Linked DNA regions of Homo sapiens: region 2 is linked to region 1. The links are contacts of gene promoters, found by promoter capture Hi-C in human tissues and cell types (Jung and others, 2019). All regions are on one chromosome and are shown on one strand. Each heading gives the region's core, a stretch centred on a gene start or on the middle of the fragment in contact. The rest is flanking DNA. Distances are from core to core; before and after follow the strand shown. Region 1 holds the start of DPPA2 (developmental pluripotency associated 2). Region 2 has its middle 37 kb from the start of DPPA2.

Region 1 (3,122 bases), core at 135-2,634:
GTTGACAAGTTCCAATGGAATGAACAGAATGTTTTAGAACAGTTATAAGACGATATTGGTAACAAATTACTTATTACGAAGGGAATGGAAAAAAGATTCAGAGCATTTTACGCAGGTATTTTATACCTGATTTATGCACGGGGGTATGTTACTCACTGAAAGATTCCAGATTTAAATTGTGGGGGTTGGATAACATAATCTCTCTTCGATCTAGTTCTAAATACAAATATTAAGCCTGCAATAATATTGAGCTGGTTGGAGGAGAAGGATTTGGCTGTTCAGAATAGCAACAAGAGCCAAAACACCAAGGCAAGTGGTGGAGTAACGAAGGCAGAAGGAACGATGCACTTAGGAATTGCTGGAGCCTAATGTTGGACACGGAATGTGGCAAAATATGAAGCAGGTGTTCTCATAGGTCACTCTAAGAAGCCAGAGCAACTAAAGGAAATTTCATTCACCAATAATATGGCAGCACTGGACAACCAAGTACCTTTACAATGGGCTTTTTCTGTCCCTGGGAAAATGATTTGGTCCATTAATCTCAGGACCCAGGGTGACCATGGTCCATTTAAGTTACTAGTGTATTTAACACATTCAAAATATTGTCTGGACCTGGCACGGTGGCTCATGTCTGTAATCCTTTGGGAGGCCTTTGGGAGGCCGAGGAAGGACGACCACTTGAGTCCAGAAGTTCGAGACCAGCCTGGGCAATATAGTGAGACCTCATCTCTATGAATAAATAAATAAATAAATAAATTTACAAAAGAAAAAAATGTAGTCTGAAAAAGCTCAGCTTCAGTTTACTGAGGAACTGATTGGAAAAATAAATTATGAGGCCCCACCCCACCACCCAAGACATCCTGAATCAGATCATGGAGGGTGAGGCTGAGGGGCTGAGGAATCTGTGCTTCCACAAGCCCTCCAGGTAATTTTTTCTTTTTTTCTTTTTTTAGACAGGCTCTGACGCCCAGGCTGGAGTGCGGTGGCGCGATCATAGCTCACTGCAGCCTCGACCTCCTGGACTCAAGCGATCTTCCCACTACAGCCCATGCCGTCCCACCCCCGCCCCTCCCCCCACACTCCAGTAGTTGGGATTACAGGCCCGCGCCACCACGCCCCGCTAATATTTAAATTTTTTGTAGAGAGGAGACCTGGGATGGAAGGAGATTGCGGGGACGGAGAGGATGTGGGTAGGGGGCCTCACTGTGTTGCCCAGGCTGGTCTTGAATTCCTGGCTGAGTTCCCAGACTCAAGTTGATCCTCCCTCCGCAGCCTTCGGAGTGGGTGGGACTACAGGCCTGCACCGCCACGCCCAGCCCTCCGGACGATTCTTAAGCTCCTGAAGTCTAGAAGCCTTAGCTAGATCAGGCCATAAACAAAGGGCTTTGGAGACAGGCAGTCCGCGGCAGATAATGATCGGAATTCCGGCTCCTCCCTTCCAGGGTGGAACCTGAATGCAGCCCTCTAAGATGCAGCCAGGAAAGCACTCCGCCTACCCGGTTGGGTGTGGCCCCTGGTGCTTTGAATGGGCAATTTAGAGGAAAGCTGACCTAATGGCCTGAGTTGATCCTAATGCCTTAGGTAGGGACAGGATTTCGAGTGGGAAGACCATTTCATTACCATGTTTTCTTTTCTTCATTGCATTTTTTACAATATAATCATTTTAGGCCGGGCGCGGTGGCTCACGTCTGTAATCCCAGCACTTTGGGAGGCGGAGGCGGGCGGATCACCTGAGGTCAGGAGTTCAAGACCAGTCTGGCTAACATGGCGAAACCCCGTCTCTACTAAAAATACAAAAATTCGCCGGGCATGGTGGCACATGCCTGTAATCCGAGCTACTAGGGAGACTGAGGCAGAACAATCGCTTGAACCCGGGAGGCGGAGGTTGCGGTGAGCCGAGATTGCGCCATTGCACTCCAGCCTGGGCAACAAGAGCGAAACTCCGTCTCAAAAAAAAAAAAAAAGTAAGAAAATCTATGAAAATCTATGGGAAGAATCTATATTGGAATAGCTTAGGGAAACTTTAGAGAAGATTACACTTTTTGAGGAAGAGCTTACCAGTCGTGGAAGTAGTCAATACAAACAGGGAACAGACTCCCTAGCTACTCGGGAGTCTGAGGCACGAGAATCGCTTGAACCCAGGAGGTGGAGATTGCAGTGAGCCAAGATCACGCCACTGCACTCCAGCCTGGGCGACAGAGAGAGACTCTGTCCCCCCAAAAAAAAAAAAAAAAAAATCTTATTTGTTTTCCTGGGGTTTTTTCCCCAGCTTTTTGAGAATGTTTTATTATGGGAAGGTTCAAACATGTACAAAAGTGTGTCTACTTTTTGTCATAGTAATTTACTTACAGCCAGTCTGGTTACATCTAAATTGCCGTCCATTCCTCCTCCATGGGTTATTTTGAAACAAGTGCCAGATCGCCTATGATTTCGTTCATAAATTCAGGGAAAAGGCCGGTGCCATGGCTCACACCTGTAATCTCAGCACGTCAGGAGGCCGAGGTGGCAGGAACAGTTGAGCCCAAGAGTATGAGACCAGCCTCGGCAAGATAGTGAGATCTCATTGTTACCAAAAAAATAAAAATGAAAATAAAAATAAAATAACCGGGCGTGTGGGTGTGGTGAGACATGCCTGTGGTCCTAGCTACTCAGGGGGCTGAGGTCAGAGGATCCCTTCAGCCCAGGAGCCCGAGGCTGCAGTGAGGCTGTCTCAATAAATAAATAAATAAATCCAGGGGGAAAAAATACTTCGTTCCTATTATAACTACGATATCCTTTTTACATCTAAACATAATTTAAAAAATCATTATTTAATATTATCAAAGTATTCAAATATATGTTATGTTCAAATATCCAGCAGTATTCAAAACTCCAATTATCTGGCTGGGCACCGTGGCTCACGCCTGTAATCCCAGCACTTTGGGAGGCCAAGGCAGGTGGATTACCTGATGTCAGGAGTTTGAGACCAGCCGGCCAACATGGAGAAACCCTGTCTGTACTAAAAATACAAAAATTAGCCAGGCATGGTGGCACGCACCTGTAGTTCCAGCTACTGGTGGGGGCTGAGGCAGGAGAATTGCTTGAACCCAGGTGGTGGATCTCAAAAAAAAACAACAAAAAAA
Region 2 (2,997 bases), core at 147-2,646, 37 kb before region 1:
AACACGATTAATTTACATTGGGGTTGTACCATTGCTTTAAGCAACCTGTCCTTGCTTGTAGATGGAAATTTGGAATATAAAAAGTATGCTATCCCTAAATTTCAGGTAGCTTACATAACCTGAAAGCCACTTGCTCTACTTTCAGAGGGTGTTCCTAAAATAGAATTATTTATGGTGGAGAAAATTGTACTTTAAGGTGGAAATAGCTGAGGGAACCACAGACCCATGTGGTTTTTGGAAAAGAAAGCCCTAATTCTTTAGATGCATTATTAAAATTATCAGTGAAGGGGTAATTGGACCCACAGATTCCTTTTGTAGAATTCACTAAGGAACATGAATTAAAGATACTAGCATCTTGGTTGGATGCCAAGAAATATAACAGTACAAATACAGCCTTGAGGAAACACTCTTTTTTTTTTTTTTTTTTTTTTTTGAGACAGAATCTCACTCTTGTTGTTCAGGCTAGAATGCAATGGTACGATCTCGGCTCACTGCAACAGTACGATCTCAGCTCACTGCAACCTCCGCCCCCCAAGTTCAAGTGATTCTCCTGCCTCAGCCTCCCCAGTAACTGGGATTACAGGTGCCCACCACCATGCCCAGCTAATTCTTGTACTTTTAGTAGAGACAGGGTTTCACCATGTTGGCAGGCTGGTCTTGAACTCCTGACGTCAGGTGATCCACCCGCCTTGGCCTCCCAAAGTGCTAGGATTACAGGAGTGACCACTGTGCCCGGCCGAAACACTCTTATTGAAAAGACAAATGATACTTCTAATGTAAAGTTAAATTGCAACAAAAGGCATATACGATAATTCAGAAAACAAGAAGTGTAGCTCTCAACTCTTCTGTGGGAGGGCTTTGCCATTTGATCCTTTTATGGGATATGGGGCAGGGAAAGGTGAGTGAGAGGACAGGGCAAGGTGGGAAGAACAGCTGTAAGTAAAGCCTAGATGTGAATGAGAACAAGTTCACCAGTGTCAGCGGGAGCAGAGATTTTGCATTGGGAAATCTGAAAAAAAGAATAGCATCACATTAAGAACAGACATGAACTTCCTATTAAGACATTGTCAGAAAGAGGTAAAGAGGTTTCAAGTAGGAGAGTTAAATGAGGTAAATGCTAAAGATTATTTATTTGACAGTCAGGACATTTTGGAGGAAATTACTACTGGAGAGATGAGACAAAGTACTGTCTCAGTTCCTGCCATCAGCGCTTCCTAACTTTTCAAGGTTCCTGCCTTACATTGGTGTAGTTTGTCTTTCCTTTTCTACACGTTTTACTGAGAACTACTGAGAATCACAATAATAGCTGCCATTTATTAAGGATCTGTTTTCTGCAAGTTTTATAGACATTCTCTCACAAAACAACGGCCCAATCTGATAAGAAACACCCCTGTTGAGGAAACAGGCTGAGGGAGCGTGAGGAGCGCCCCTGCTTTCTCAAAGCTGGTAAGTGATAAAGCCAGGACTTGACGATGGCTCTGTTTAACTGCAACATCAGTATTCTCTTCACTATACCTTTAAAATAAGGGAGGCTGAGGCCGGGGTCAGTGGCTCACGCCTGTAATCCCAGCACTTTGGGAGGCTGAGGCAGGTGAATCACCTGACGTCAGGAGTTTGAGACCAGCCTGGCCAACACGGTGAAACCCCGTCTCTACTAAAAATACAAAAAATTAGCCCGGTGTGGTTGTGGACACCTGTAATCCCAGCTACTCAGGAGGCTGAGGCAGGAGAATCGCTTGAACCCCGGAGGTGGTGGTTGCAGTGAGCCGAGATCGCGCCATTGCACTCCAGCCTCATCAACAAGAGTGAAACTCCGTCCCCAAAAACATAAATACATAAATAAATAACATTCAAAAATAAAATAAGAGAGGCTGAAGAAAAAAAGGAATAAGAGTTTTGTCTTTTTGAAATTTAGTAAGCTGTGGGAATTCTATGAACCACTACATTTCATTGCTCAGCTTCATGATACCTCCTTCTTTCACTGTTAGTCATATCTGTGGGGAAAAAAATAAGACTGAGAAATCTAGCCCCTCTTAAACACCACTCATGCTTTTTATGTGTAAGCTATTTATTCATTCATTGAAGAAATGTTGACTGAATAACTACTATCTGCTAAGCATGCTCAATCTTAATCCAATAGCAAAGCTGGAAAAGGCTCTTGAGATGTCCCAATAAAACACATTTAAATGCAGTGATAAAAATGAATAAATAGATATAATGCAGCAAGTAGACAACCGTGTGTTGTTTTTTTACCTCATCTACCATTGTTTCACTTGAAAGACAAGTCCAACTTTAAAATATAGGAATAAACCTTAACTTTATGGAATAGTGGTTATAGTTACAGATTCAGAAAATACATTTCACTAACATAAAAGTGTCTGAGGATTTTTTAGAAAGCCTCCTTTAAAAAAATATCTAAAATCACTTTCAAGAAATGTTATACAATTTATAGCCAGGTGTGGTGGCTCATGCCTGTAATCCCAGCACTTTGGGAGGCCAAGATGGGAGGATCACTTGGGGCCAGGAGTTTCAGACCAGCCTGGTCAACATAGCAAGATCCCATCTCTTAAAAAAAAAAAAAAAAAGAAATGTTCTACAATTTATAGTATTGGCCATATAGTCACTAATCTGCCTCCATACAATAGACAATAAATAGCAGAAGGTCAGTATATTTCCAAGTTGTTAATCTCCTTCTCTGATTAGTGCATGCTTAGTATTTATTTATTTATTTCTTTTTTTGAGATGGAGTCTTGCTCTGCAGCCCAGCCTGGAGTGCAGTGGCACGGTCTCAGCTCACCGCGACCTCTGCCACCTGCGTTCAAGTGATTCTCCTGCCTCAGCCTCCTGAGTAGCTGGGATTACAGGCATGAGCCACCACCCAGTTAATTTTTCTATTTTTAGTAGAGACAGGGTTTCACCATGTTGGCCAGGCTTGTCTCAGACTCCTGACCTCAGGTGATCCTCCCGCCTCAGCCTCCCAAAGTGCTAGGATTACAG

The links. The method cuts DNA at HindIII sites, captures the fragments that hold promoters and counts their contacts. A contact is called where the count stands out against the background at its distance.
Region 2: a fragment that was not itself captured here is called in contact with the fragment with the promoter of DPPA2 in region 1 in 3 of the 25 tissues and cell types used here (psoas muscle, spleen and stomach).

Annotation. Positions count from the first base shown.
Region 1 is chr3:109,315,133-109,318,254 of GRCh38, forward strand. It overlaps DPPA2 (developmental pluripotency associated 2), which reads right to left and starts at 1,385. Exons shown (of 9, transcript NM_138815.4): 1 at 1,152-1,385. The HindIII fragment of the contact is 15,346 bases long and covers 1-3,122 here.
Region 2 is chr3:109,278,466-109,281,462 of GRCh38, forward strand. No RefSeq gene overlaps it. Among named protein-coding and RNA genes, the nearest start is that of DPPA2, 37 kb to the right of the region's middle. The HindIII fragment of the contact is 9,547 bases long and covers 1-2,997 here.